5 separate regions of the Homo sapiens genome follow, and regions 2, 3, 4 and 5 are each linked to region 1. The links are contacts of gene promoters, found by promoter capture Hi-C in blood cells and fetal thymus (Javierre and others, 2016). All regions are on one chromosome and are shown on one strand. The core of a region is centred on a gene start or on the middle of the fragment in contact, and the rest is flanking DNA. Distances in the headings are between cores, read along the strand shown.

Region 1 (2,700 bases), core at 198-2,697:
TCTCCCCCCACCCCGACACCTCACCCTCACTCCACCTAGGGGCTCAGCGGGGAGGGGAGCGCGCGCGCCCCCGCACTCACACTCACACTCACGCGCGCACACGCCTCGCAGCCACGCAGCCCTCGCTCCGCTACCCACAGTGACACTCGCGGATGGGGGAAAGCGGGGAGCAGGGGGTTCCTCCTTACCTTTGAGGGATCTCGGTTTCGCTTGCTTGCGGCGAGACATCCTAAAAGCAAACAGCTGAAGTTGTTTCAATTCAGCCCTGAAAGAAACTATACTTCCTCGTGGCCGCGCGCCCCTCGGGCCGCGGCGCCTCGCGCCCTCCGCTCGGCCTCCCTCGCGCCCTCGCTCCGCGCTCCGCTCCTCGCTCCGGCTCCGGCTCGCGCTCGCGCGCGGGGCTCGCGGCTGCCCGAGCTCCGCGCTCTGCACGACGGCGGCGGCGGCGGCGGCGGCTGCTGCACCAAACTTTCCCAGCCTTCGACCCCCACCCCCAATCTCCAAGAAAAAAAAAAAAAAAGGAAAAAGAAAAAAGGAAAGGAGGGAAAAAAAGCTAAAAAAAAAACCCCAAAGACAATGTTTGAAGAGCCGTCAGCTACACTAAAAAGAGAAAATCCGTTACTATTTCCACCTCAATCAAAATTCACATAGTTCATGCGAATAGAAAAAAACTAATAAAAAGAAAAGCGTCTGGGTGATTTTTTTTTTCTTTACCGCTTTTCCTTTTCAACAAATCCGCCCCCCCCCCCACCGGAAAAAAACAAATAACACTGATTTGTTTACAAAGCGAGTCGTGCTCTTTTGTAGTTGGGGGGACGAGGGGGGGAAATCGACCCTGCAAGGCGATGAAAAGGTCTTGGAAAGAAAAATCTCCCACCATCCGAGGCAGATGCGAACGGGCCACGAAAATAAGCAAAGGGAAAAAAATACTTTTTTTCTCCCTTCCCCCCACCCTTTTTTTCTTAACCCACACTAAAGTAATTTCTTTCAAAAAGAAAAAGCCAAAGCACCCGAGCCGACGGCCCCCAGGTGGTGTGCGGGGCTGCTTGTGTGCAGGGGGTGTGCGGGGCCCGGGCTCGGGGCGCCCCTCTCTGGGCGGGGGCGCGGCGCCGGCGGCTGGCGCTGGACCGGGGCTCTAAAGTCTACGGCTGCCTCGGCAGCGGCGGCGGCAGCAGCGGCGGCAGCGGCGGCGGCAGCGGCGGCGAGAGCAGGAGGAGGAGGAGGAGGAGAGCCGGGAGCAGGAGGAGGAGAAGGAGTGTGCTGTGTGCTCCCTCCTCATCACAAACCTGCAAGGTCTTGGACTGCGCTGTCGCTCCGGTAGTCCACATAATAATGGAAAATGGAAGCAAGGCCCCCAAAGCCATCAGGATGGCTCCAGAGGGGGCCCCTAACCCGCAGGGACTCGCTCTGTACGTAATCACTGAGGAAATCATTGTCAGCCTGCCTGCACTCACACACAGACAGAGGGGCATGATTAAAAGGCGAGAGCGCGGGGAGCGGGAGGGAGGAGGGGGCCCGCCAAGACCCGGACTGGAGGCGCCGGCCGCGGCGCGCGGATCCGGAGCCAGGCGGCGGCCGAGCGCCCCGAGCCCCGCCCGCCGCCGCCGCCGCCGCCGCCGCCTCCCACGCGCCGCGCGCCCCGCCCGCTCCTGCGCCGCCGCCCCTCGCGCCGCCCGCCCGGCCGCTCGCACACCCCGCGCCGCCGCCGTCGCCGCCGCCGCAGCTGCGTTATTAGAGCTCCACGGCGGATCTCGGGGCTCTTCTGCTCGCTTTTTTTCCTCTTCAGAAATTAAAGCAGAGGAGCATCTGAAAGTGGAAAGGTCCCCCTTCTGGTAGGATGGATGTAAAAGGAGGCAACAATTTGTTCTTGAGGGGGCAAAAAAAAAAAAAAAAAAAAAGAAAAAGAAAAAGAAAAAGAAAGGAGGGGGGAAATTCATTGCTTGGCTTTTGCATTGTCGGACTTTAAAAAAGTGTGTCTGCTGTTGTTGCCCGGACTCGGGAAATCTTTTTTATGGCAACCGCAGACCTGCCAAGTCTCTCTTACTTGGAATCTTTATAAAGGCAAGTTATTTGGACTTTTTTTTTATTTTCTCGTTTAGAGAAAGTCATTGATGCTGACGAATGTCATAATGTGATTCAAAAGAGACAGCTTTGAGTTCACTTTTTTAACATTCTCAAATTGACATAGATCTTTGTCCAGAAAATAAAGCTTTCTGTTGATTTTTTCTTTAAGCAAGAGGTAAGGAAATATGCACTTAAGAATATGTGTACAAGAAAATAGTTTCTAAAATAAATTGAAATGTCTGCAGGTCGGTGGGAATTTTTGTTTCTTTTCGCAGTTTTGTTTTCTAACTTTTCACCTGCTCCCATCGCAAAACAAGAAACCATCACCTGTTTCCTTCTTTTACCTTATCTTAAGGGAAAGGATGTTTTAGTATTATTATTGTTGTTGCTATTTATTGATTGGACACGCTTGTCAAGTTATAAATGCCTGAGAGGGCTACCAAGTAGAGCTTAGATTCACAAGTCTTGGTGGAAATTAAGAGATTCAGAATACGGTTAATTACACAAAACAGGCAGAATTTTGTACAAATACTATTGTTCTTAATCAGATTTTAAAAATTCTCCGTTCTGTAAAATTAAGGTACAGCTATCTATTAAGCCACCATGCAAAGACATCAAAGCTTTAAGGAAGTTGTA
Region 2 (2,700 bases), core at 17-2,516, 740 kb after region 1:
CAGTTCTGTGCATTTGGCAGATAGCACTGAAACTTCAAAGGGCAACATGAACCAGTAGGAACACTTGTCTAATTTCCATATCCCAGCAAAAAAATAAGTAGTCCAAGGGGGCTTCTATTCCAGGGAGGCACCTGGAGCTAGTTACCTTCTTTATTTAAATTACAGCTCCCCAAAGGTGAGAAAGGGAAATCCACTGAAAACAGGTTACAGTTGGCCTGAGATGTTTATTTCTTCAGAGTAGCAGGGTAGGGCCCAGAGAACCCATAGCCTGCAGGCATGGATAGCCACAGTCTTTTCTGTGACACCATGTATGCCATAAAGATACCATTATTTTCTGTGTCTGATCACATGAAATCAGTTGAAAAGCATTGTTCTATAAGTCCAGCCAGAAATACAAATGATCTCCTTGAGAGAGGATACTTAAAAAGAACTACTTCACCCTCAAGCTTCCTTGCTAAAACCCAATCAATCCAATCAGTTAGCCTGACCTGGAAAAATAGAAAATTCGGAAAGAGGAAAGATTGAGACTGAAGCCTGGAAGATCTTTCTTAAAATTTTGGGGCCTTTGTAATGTAAGAGTCCTGAGCTAGGGGATACTTAGGGGAACATAATAAGTCCCATCTCACCTGACCACTAGTTTTAAGAGGAATCCCAAGGTAGACTGAGTGGCAGCAGAGTTGGTAGAAGGAGAATAAACAGTCCCTAGCATTTAGTTACGAAGAAAAGGAGAACAAATATGGGAAGTTGGCCTAAGACTGGGAAAGGACTCTAAGGACTTAAAGGTAAGATACTCAGGCAACCATCTCCCCAACCAAAAAAATCAGTCCCACTATTTAAACTGCTCTTGAATGAGAGACATCTAAAGAAGGAATCCAACTCACATAACCAAGAGGTAGAAGGAGTTTGGAATAATCCTAAATTGAAGAACATATAGAGTGGGTCAGAATAAGAAAAATAATCTGTGTGAACAGTTAATTCTTGATTACTCACACTAATGAATATGAAGTAGGCAGATTTAACAAAGATTAAAAAAAATTGTTCATGTTTGATTTTTTGTTTCAATTTTTATATAAATTTGTACTCCTTAAAATACACCCCGCCCCCCATACACACGCACACATATATATTTGAGGCAGGGTGTCACTCTGTCACCCAGGCTGGAGTGTGGCACAATTTCAGCTCATTGCAGCCTCGACTTCCCAGGCTGAAACGATCCTCTCACCTCAGCCTCCCGAGTAGCTGGGACTACAGGCATGCACCGCCATGCCTGGGTAATTTTTGTATTTTTTGATAGAGACAGGGTTTCACCATTTTTTTCAGGCTGTTCTTGAACTGCTTTACTCCTGGTCTCGATCCACCCACCTTGGCCTCCCAAAGTGCTAGGAGAACAGACATGAGCTACCACACCTGACCGTGTATTCCTTAAATATATTTTTATGAATTGACAAAGTGAAGTGCTCCTGTAATATGTTCAATATTTGGTGAAACTATATAATCATGGCATTAAAAATTATCTTAATCCACAAAAAATATGTACGAATAGGTAACTAAAATAATCTTGCTTTCATACAAGCATTTCTTTAATATGTATTGTTTTAGAATTAATAGAGTATCTGCACTACCAAATGTGCTGATATTTTAAGCCCCTGAGCTGTCATAAATTCTTAGAATACATTGAGAAGGCATAGACCAAGCCTGTCTGCTCATAACTGGGCTCAGAGCAAAACCCTTCAGGTAATATCTTTCAAAATATTTCTGTTCACAGTCCCTGTGGCATTTGATGAGTCAATTTGAGTTGTGGCTCCCACAGATTTCAAGACTGTAAAGAAAGAAGCATACATCTATATATTTATATAATCATTATTCAGGCAAGAACAAATCACCTTTCCCAATTCTCCGTAAAGGACTTTTATTTTTGATACTATGGAAGATTTCATTCAAAGTAGACTATAACAAAGCCTATTGGAGGCATTTTCATCTCCTCTTATAGTGCCAAATATAGAATTAATTATGAACTGAATCAATTATATTTTTGGGTTTAATGATATAGAAAAGTATTGCTTTTTAAAAAAATTAGTTCCTATGGAAAGCTTTCACTCTTTGTGAAAGATGCATAGGTTTGGAGTTCCCAATTCTTCTACCCATGGCATAATACTGGACAGGTCATTTCTGTATCTCACTGGACTTCCTGAAAAACAGCTGCCATATCTAAAAAGCTATTACAAATAATGTTTTTTTATTTAGCATTTATTATGCACTAGCCTCTGTGCCTTACATTAGATCCCTTAATTAAACGATTACCTTCCATTAGATCCTTTAAGACTGTCTCAATTTTAACATATAAAGTGTGTAAAAATTAATGGGATATTGTAAATTACTAAACAAGGACAAGATTTGCAATGTAATAATATAATTAGGAAAAATGGACATTTTAGGACTATAATCCAAAGTACTTGATAGGGCAGTCTACCCTTGGGAAATCTGCTGACCTTAAATATCAAATGTTCTTTTTTCACATTTAGCATGTTCTGTGCCCTTGGGCATGATATGCGGTTATTCTGCACTTAGTAAAAGAATATTACTGTTCTTGAACTAGTTCACAATTTATAGAGAGGATTATAATATACTATCTGTTAACTAATTTCGCTACGAATGCGTGTAGTAGGCAGAATAATTTCATCACCTTAAAAATGACGACCT
Region 3 (2,700 bases), core at 198-2,697, 870 kb after region 1:
GTCTACTTTCTAGACAGCAGTCTTTTTACCATAACCTCACTTGCTGGAAGGGGTGAGGGATCTTTCTGAGGTTTCTTTTTTTAAAAAAATTATTTATTTAATGTATTTAACTAACAAATAATAATTGTATGTATTTATGAGGTATCATGTTACATTTGTATGTGTCGTGAAATAATTAAATCAAGTTAACATATTCATCACTTTAACATGATTTGTCCTGAATGGAATCCCATTCATGAGGGCTCCACCCTTATGATCTAATCACCTTTCAAAGGCCCAACCTTCTAATATTATCAACTCCAGCTTTAGCATTTTAACACTCAGTTGGGGGTATAATCCTAGCACTTTGGGAGGCCCAGGCGGGAGCTCAGGAATTGGAGACCAGCCTGGACAATATAACGAGATCCCGTTTTTGCTAGGCATAGTGCCGCTCCCCTGTGGTTCCAGCTACTCGGGAATCTGAGGTAGGAGGGTAGGATGATCACTTGAGCCCAGGAGGTGGAGGCTGCAATGAGCCAATGGTGCCACTGCACTCCAGCCTGGGTGACAGAGTTAGATCCTGTTTCCAAAACAAAACAAAACAAAACAAAACAAAACAAAACACCACAACATTCAGATCATAGCATCTGCCTACTTGTAAAATCGCCTTTCAGTGCAGTGTTGGTTCCTACAAACATACAATATAATGACTTTAGCTTGAAATTAAGGCATCTTCTCTGACTGCATTACAAACAGGCAAGTTTTTTCATATCGATTCACTCAACACCTTTTATTTATCCAGATAATATCTAGGATCACGCTTAATATCTAAGTGCTAGAATCTAATTATATAGATATCAAAAGGCATTAAGTTTTTCAGAAGACAGACATACAATTTTAATGTTTAGAGGTGATAGAGACACCTATAGCAGCACCAAAGAAGAAACGATTTTCCATTTAAGATTTTAGGCAGTTTAACTCTAAAATATGAAAATAGGCACATCTCACAGACTATAAAACTATACGCCATTTTAATTTTTACAATGTCAATTCTAACTGCGAATTTTAGCAACGCTTCAGTGTGAAGACAGCAGAGAAAAACACTGAAAATGCGTGATTGAATTCTTATTGAGTCACTCTTCTCGGAAATCAGTCCTCCCCATTTTCTCCTTAAAAAATAGAATCCTGGAGATAGTCTAGTGCTGGCTTTTCGAGGAACACACTACAGGGGACACAAGGAGAGGAACACGGATGCCGCAGTTTTCCAAGTGCAGCTTGCCCCTCCCACGTGATAGGTTTCTGGCATCGCCCCTCCTTGCTGGCGATTCTGGGGAAGATTTTAACGCTCCCTGGAGCCGTCCCCAGTGACGTCACGGGCGCGGCTCCGCTCCTTGGCCAATCACGCGGCCGGATCCCGGGGAAACCCGGGGCGGTGGCGGCGGCCTGGGCGCGTGCGCGAGGTCTCCGCGTGGCTATATAAACATGGCTGGCGTGGCCGCGCGGCGGGGCCGTGCCAATCGCGCGTAGGGGGCTGTGGGCACTCGGGGTTCGTAGTTTTGAAATTTCTGGCGGGGGAGCAGCTGCGCAGTTAGGCTCGAGGTGTGAGCGACGACCTTCCGGGAGCCGCAAGTCCAGGCTCCCCCGCAGCGGGACCCGAGCCTGAGGCGCAGGGCTGAGGCAGCGCACGTGTGAGCGCCGCTGAGGAAGCTGCGAGAGGTCGGGCGGGTGTCGCTCCGGGGGCAGCCCAGGCTCGCGCGGACGAGAGGAAGGTCCGGGACGCGCGTGTCCTGCCGTGCAGCGGGCGCCCGTCACTGACTTCGCTGCTGCGGCCCCCGCGCCTCTCCCCAGCGATGCTGTGGAACCCGAACCGCACCGGAGTCGGCTGCCGCGCGCCAAGCCTCCCCTCACCTCTGCTCCCGGAACCGCAGCGCCAAAGCTGCCGCTGAGCCCCTGGGGGATGCCCGCCGGCCTCACCGAACCCGCCGGCGCCGCTCCCCCGGCTGCTGTGAGCGCCTCGGGGACCGTGACCATGGCCCCGGCCGGGGCGCTGCCGGTGCGGGTGGAGAGCACTCCGGTGGCCCTGGGCGCCGTGACTAAGGCTCCTGTCAGCGTCTGCGTGGAGCCCACGGCGTCCCAGCCCCTGCGGTCCCCCGTGGGGACCCTGGTGACCAAAGTGGCTCCGGTCAGCGCCCCTCCTAAAGTCAGCAGCGGCCCTAGGCTGCCTGCTCCTCAGATAGTCGCCGTGAAAGCCCCCAACACCACGACAATCCAGTTTCCTGCTAATTTGCAGCTTCCTCCAGGTATGTTGATAACCCTTTCCAGCCTTGTCTGTCGGTCCAGCTGGCGGCGACGGGAAAATTCGCAGCTCCAGATTGCTCCTAAAAAAACTGAGCCACGGGAACATTTCATAATCTTGACTTTACAGTTAACATATTCTTTTTGTGTCATTACTACATAGTTTTTCTTTTCATATTTAAGGAAAGAATCTTTTCACCTAAGTGATACAGTAAAAAGCTACATCAGCGTATTCGGGGGGGCTTTCAGGCACTGGCTCTTAGGTGGAGGAGATAATATAGCCGAAGTTAATTTCCATGTGGAGGATGGACCGGTTTATACCGTGGATTTCCATACGCTTAGATTATGTAGAAGTGCGTTGTACTTATTTTATTAATTATGAATGAATGAATGAACGAATGAGGTATGGTTTCGCTCTGTCGCCCA
Region 4 (2,700 bases), core at 1-2,500, 950 kb before region 1:
CCCCCTATAAACTGTAGACAAAGCCCACCTAGTGGTTTAGAATTAGGGAATTAAAAGGTGGATTTTGTTACTATGCTGTAATTAAGAAATCTTCACAATTCCAGCTTGGGGTGGGGAGGGAGGGGGGTGGTTCAGAATTTATACCTATCAAACTGCTGCAAAAAATTCATTGTATCGGGGTTAGACTGCAAATACTTCTACCCCTCAAAACGAATCTGCAAATTATTTCCCAGATGCTGAGTAAAGAGGTGAGGAGGTTCCAAACTCCAAATCCAGAATGCACCTATTACAGGGCAAAGACTGAAGTTTTCAGGGAAAACACATCACCGATTTTAAAGCTGATTTAATTATATTATTAACTATTCACAGACACCTAATAGCCACATTTGCAACATTCAAGCAACCTTATTTAAGCTAAGAATATCACACTGCCCACAGTTCCATTTCACAATACCGTCTGCCTAAAAACGACAACTTGAACTGAAAACTAATACTAAATCAGAATAACCCTTTTCAATGCCTCCTGCCAATCATTAGGGCAGCGGGATAAGTGAATTGTTAAAGTCTATTGTGCAGCTGCGCTCTCATTCAGTTTCAGAATCTCCCTTGGATATTCGTTCATGCTTGTAGAACCGACCACGCGGTACATTGGGAAACGGTCACATGAACAATGCGTGACTTCCATTGTGCATCAATCCTCCTCTTGTTAGGAGGAAATTAAAAAGTCACATGGACACACGAAAGTACCGAGAAGGCACGCAGCTGAAGATCTGGTAGGGGATGCATGCGGCACCAGCATGGTCGTGGCACCCGAGTGGGAAGTGCAACAAACGCCAACATCTTGTTACTTTTAACGCCTAACTTCCTGCAGCGCTGGAGCAGCCAGCGGCCGCCGGGAAGCCGAGCTCGGCTGCAGCCCTGCGTCGCCGCGCCACGACCCGACCATCCTCTGAGACGCCCGGGACGGGAGCGCCCACCCCCAACCAGGCGCGGACAGACCTCCCGAGCGCAGCCCGGCGGGAACCCGTCAGCGCGGGAACCGGCCTCGAACTCCAGGCGTGGACAGCCGCGAGAAACTGACCTACGCGGTCACCCGGGCTCCCAGAGCTCCCGAGGCGGTGGCCACGACCCCAGGCTTCCCGTCCGCCCGCCCCACGTCGAGGAAGTGGTCGTCACCAACTCTGGCTGGCACTCCCCGAGGACGCTCGAGCCCGCGTAACGTCTGTCTCCGGGACCCGGCGCCGGGACCACGGCGGAGCGCGAGGTGGCGCCGCCCCTCCCCGCAGCCCGCCCCTGGAACGCGCATCCTCCTGGCGAGCTGGCATCCCTCCCGACACGTGACCGCAGCGGGGACACGCCCGTTCCCCGCCCACTCCCCGCCCCTGCCTGGCCTGCCCACGCCCCCGGCCCGCTCCTGTCCCGCCTGGGCCACCGGCGCTGGTTCCAGGTTTTGCCAGCTACTAGGGACGCGTAAAGCCTTCGCGCTCCTCCCACCACACCCCGAGGGAAGAAGTGGCAGGCCTTACCCGGAGACTACAAGGAACCGCCCGTGTGAGCCAGTGGAAGACTCGCGTCCCCAGGCAAAATATAAGTCCTGGGTTAATAGTCTGAAGTCTGTCATTAAGCAATAGGTTATCCAGCTGCCCAGATTTTTTTCTTTTTTGCTTTGGCTGCAACTCGACCCGTGGGAACTTAATTGGCAATGTAAATTAGACAATTTACAAAAAAACACCTCCTTTTACTTTCACCTGTGAAAGGAAGCGCTTAAAATGCCATACAGGTGTAACCATTATAGAATAGATATGCGTGAGACAAGGATTTACAAAATTTCCTCACCTCCTCTCCTCCAGATTCCATGCACAAGGCGTCTAGCTAGAGGAGTTAGCAAATAGTCTATAACGTGAAGGTTCAAACTCTAGTATAATTCCACCGTTTTTGTTTTTTTCTTTTTTTGAGGCAAGGTCTCACTCTGTCTCCCAAGCTGGAGTGTAGTGGCGCGATCTCGGCTCACTGCAGCATCGTCTTCTGGGTTCAAGCGATCCTCCGGCCTCAGCTGGACTACAGGCGGGTAATCAAGGGACTGGGACTACAGGCGCGCCCTGCCGCGCCCGGACAAGTTTTGTATTTTTAGTAGAGACAGACTCTCCCTATGTTGCCCAGGCTGGTCTCCAACTCCTGGGCCTCCCAAAGTGTTGGGATTACAGGCGTGAGTCACCCCTGCAGGCCACAGCTTTGCTTTTTAAAAGCATTTCTGCATAACTAAAAAGACAGGAAATTACGAGCATACGAAAACTGATTTCTGCTTTCCTGAATTTTCTAAATGTATTTAATGAACATGTTCTTTTGCAATGAAAAAGTAATAAATAGGTATCATTTTTAAAAGGACTGTAGTTTTTCCATCAAGTCTAGAAGCATGTATTGAGAACCTATAATAGGCCCTTTTGGTCATTGTGATATGTGTGAAACAGCATATGGCAGATCTTTTGAAATGATGTTTTTGGATACCACAAGCAATCCTGCTGGTGTATCTCAGGCTGGCATCATCTTTTATTAACAAAGCAGGCACTTTACTAGCACAATACTTCAACTGCAAAATGTGTGGTAACTAAAGCAGCTGTATTTGTCTGGAAAAGAAGAAACCTCAGGGCTTACTATCTAAGGATATTGAACCATCTTTTTTTTTTTTTTTGAGATGGAGTT
Region 5 (2,700 bases), core at 112-2,611, 930 kb before region 1:
CGGGAGCAGTGGCTTACACTTGCAATCCTAGGACTTTGGGAGGCCGAGGCGGGCGGATCACCTGAGATCAGGAGTTTGAGACCAGCCTGGCTATCACGGTGAAACACTATCTCTATTAAACATACAAAAATTAGCCAGGCGTGGTGGTGAGCACCTGTAATCCCAGCTACTTGAGAGGCTGAGGCCCAAGAATCACTTGAGCTCAGGAGGCAGAGGTTGCAGTGAGCCAAGATCAGGTCACTGCACTCCAGCCTGTGTGAGAGTGAGACTGACACACACACACACAAACACACACACACGACGGCCATTTGAAGATTTAAGGGAAGAACATTCCACTCAGAGGCAAAAGGGAAAAGCAAATAACTTGTATTTCTTAACCAACAATTTTGACTTCACACACATCTCCTCTGAATATTGATTTTGAGGTTATGGGGAAGCTAATCATACGGCCATTTTCTACTTTTAGTCAAAAAAGCTTCTGGAGGGAAAAAATTTGAGATGTCACGTAAAGAGGTAAGGAAGTCAAGTGTGGCAGTTAAGGGTGCATGGTGCTGAGGAAGGCTTATCTCTGGCTTTACCCACTCCCACTCCCACCCAAGAACCTGTTCTCCGTTGGCTATAACCCAATCCTTGCTAAAGTTTCAATGAATAATTAACAAAAGAACTTGTAACTATCCCTTCTAGAAGTTTATTCATTAAGAAGATGCTTCTTGAAAATGAAAAAATAAAAAGATCAGATTTAATTCTTTTTTTGAGACAGAGTCTCACTCTGTTGCCCAGGCTGGAGTACAATGGAGCAATCTTGGCTCACTGCAACCTCCTCCTCCTGGGCTCAATTGATCCTTCCGCCTCAGCCCCCCAAGTAGCTGGGACTAGAGGCATGAGCCACCACGCCCAGCTAATTTTTGTGTTTTTTGTAGAGATGAAGTTTCACCATGTTGCCCAGGCTGGTCTCAAACTCCTGAGCTCAAGTGATCCACCTGCATTGGCCTCCCAAAGTGCTAGGATTACAGGCGGATGAATTACTGTGGAACACTTGTTTGAACATGCTGTTACTGGGGAAACAAACCTGCCGTAGCGGTCAATGAAGTACTTGCAAAACTGCTTGGGGGATAGGAGTACCTGTTTCTGAAAAGGGGGTGCTGACTGGAGGTGGTGTAACAGGGTCCCTACCACACAGCACAGTTCCTCTCTAGGTGAACTCTAACATAACACCTGAGATGCCACTCTTCCATTCCCTTCAAATCTCCTGAAGTCAGGAAATGCCTCTGGCTCCATTATTTTATTTATTTATTTATTTGAGACAGAGTCTCGCTCTGTCACCCAGACAGGAGTGCAGTGGTGGGATCTCAGCTCACTGCAACCTCCGCCTCCCGGATTCTCCTGCCTCAGCCTCCAGAGTATTTGGGATTACAGACACACGCCACCATGCCTGGCTAATTTTTGTATTTTTAGTAGAGATGGGGTTTCACCATGTTGGCCAGGCTGGTCTTGAACTCCCGACCTCAAGTGATCCGCCCGCCTCGGCCTCCCAAAGTGCTGGGATTACAGGCATGAGCCACCATGCCAGGCCAGGCTCTATTATTTTTTTCTAACTATGTTTATACAATTATCAGCTAATCTTCCCAGGATACAGTGTTACTTATGGTGAAATTATAATATTAAAGGATTTTCTCTCTCCCCTAATTGCTTGCTTGACATTGACTCTGTTTCCTTGATTACTTCTTTGACAAGAACTTCTCCATAAAACTTATAGTTTAATATCCAGTATTTTAATCTTCAGCCATAGTGGGTCAAATTATTGAGTAAGCAAATGAACAGCACAAAGAGAAGGAAGAGCCTCAGCATTCATTGTCCTTGTAGTCAGCTATATTTTGGCTTTCATTGTCTGGGAGCTAAGGTAAACACACAGAGAACAGGAGGGAAAAGATCATTGTGTACTAAGATGGTTTGTGTTTTGTTTCTAAAATATTTTGAGGACATATTTCCCTAAGAAAAATATTTCAGAACCAGATAATATTGTAAGTTAATATTGTTAAAAGATAAACACATTAAAATTGTCACGAGTTTGAGAATGAAGCTATTCATGAATCACGCAGCACCAGAGCTCAAACAGTTCAACACTCCACTAAATTGGTGGGAGGGAGAAATTTTTCTAAGGTGTTTGCAGAAGCAAGATAAAGAAAATATTTGATGGCTTAAACTAGAAAGTCCCTAGTTAGATGTCACTTAGTGGTTTCTGATTGGTTAAGCTTAAGTTTACACTGAGTTCTATTTCTGTTTGCTTACTCAGAAACACAAGGCAATGGAACTGTCTTAGCCTCATGGCCTCCCAATTAATTATTTTAACAAAACCATATGGACAGAATTTGCCTGTGTTACAGTGTATCCTAGAGCAGTTTGTTCTAGTCTTCTTGGAGAGGAAGATACCAAAATGAAGTTAAATATGCAAGAAATGTGTTAGGGGAAATGCCTGTAGAAAATTGGGAAGGAACTTGAAGAGGCTCAGAGAACCATCACACCGATACTAATCTGATCCTGAGTGAATGTTGAGAAACAAGTAGAGGAAAGGGCCTTCGCTGTGGCTCACGCCTGTAATCCCAGTACTTTGGGAGGCTGAGGCAGGAGGATCGCTTGAGCCCAGGAGTTTGAGACCAGCCTGGGCAACATAGTGAGACCTCCACTCTAAAACAAATCAAA

The links. Contacts are between HindIII fragments. The CHiCAGO score rates a contact against its expected background, and 5 or more counts as called.
Region 2: a contact is called between a fragment that was not itself captured here and the fragment with the promoter of ZNF521 in region 1, in 1 of 17 cell types (fetal thymus). The highest score is 5.1, in fetal thymus.
Region 3: the fragment with the promoter of TAF4B here is called in contact with the fragment with the promoter of ZNF521 in region 1 in 1 of 17 cell types (total B cells); the score reaches 5.4 in total B cells.
Region 4: a contact is called between the fragment with the promoter of OSBPL1A here and the fragment with the promoter of ZNF521 in region 1, in 1 of 17 cell types (monocytes). The highest score is 10.5, in monocytes.
Region 5: a fragment that was not itself captured here is called in contact with the fragment with the promoter of ZNF521 in region 1 in 1 of 17 cell types (monocytes); the score reaches 7.3 in monocytes.

What each region holds. Positions count from the first base shown.
Region 1 is chr18:25,350,719-25,353,418 of GRCh38, forward strand. It overlaps ZNF521 (zinc finger protein 521), which reads right to left and starts at 1,448. Exons shown (of 8, transcript NM_015461.3): 1 at 1,287-1,448; 2 at 189-229. The coding sequence starts at 228. RefSeq lists a silencer at 1,474-1,543. The HindIII fragment of the contact is 3,815 bases long and covers 1-2,207 here.
Region 2 is chr18:26,092,674-26,095,373 of GRCh38, forward strand. No RefSeq gene overlaps it. Among named protein-coding and RNA genes, the nearest start is that of SS18, 3.4 kb to the left of the region's middle. The HindIII fragment of the contact is 1,644 bases long and covers 445-2,088 here.
Region 3 is chr18:26,224,998-26,227,697 of GRCh38, forward strand. TAF4B (TATA-box binding protein associated factor 4b) reads left to right here and starts at 1,448. Exons shown (of 15, transcript NM_005640.3): 1 at 1,448-2,279. The coding sequence starts at 1,937. RefSeq lists enhancers at 1,078-1,147, 1,178-1,277 and a silencer at 1,928-2,087. The HindIII fragment of the contact is 8,704 bases long and covers 1-2,700 here.
Region 4 is chr18:24,396,574-24,399,273 of GRCh38, forward strand. It overlaps OSBPL1A (oxysterol binding protein like 1A), which reads right to left and starts at 1,251. Exons shown (of 28, transcript NM_080597.4): 1 at 1,082-1,251. The region is part of intron 2 of LOC124904268 (a long non-coding RNA gene); the gene reads left to right. RefSeq lists a silencer at 1,185-1,314. The HindIII fragment of the contact is 23,089 bases long and covers 1-2,700 here.
Region 5 is chr18:24,419,699-24,422,398 of GRCh38, forward strand. No RefSeq gene overlaps it. Among named protein-coding and RNA genes, the nearest start is that of IMPACT, 5.6 kb to the right of the region's middle. The HindIII fragment of the contact is 1,777 bases long and covers 474-2,250 here.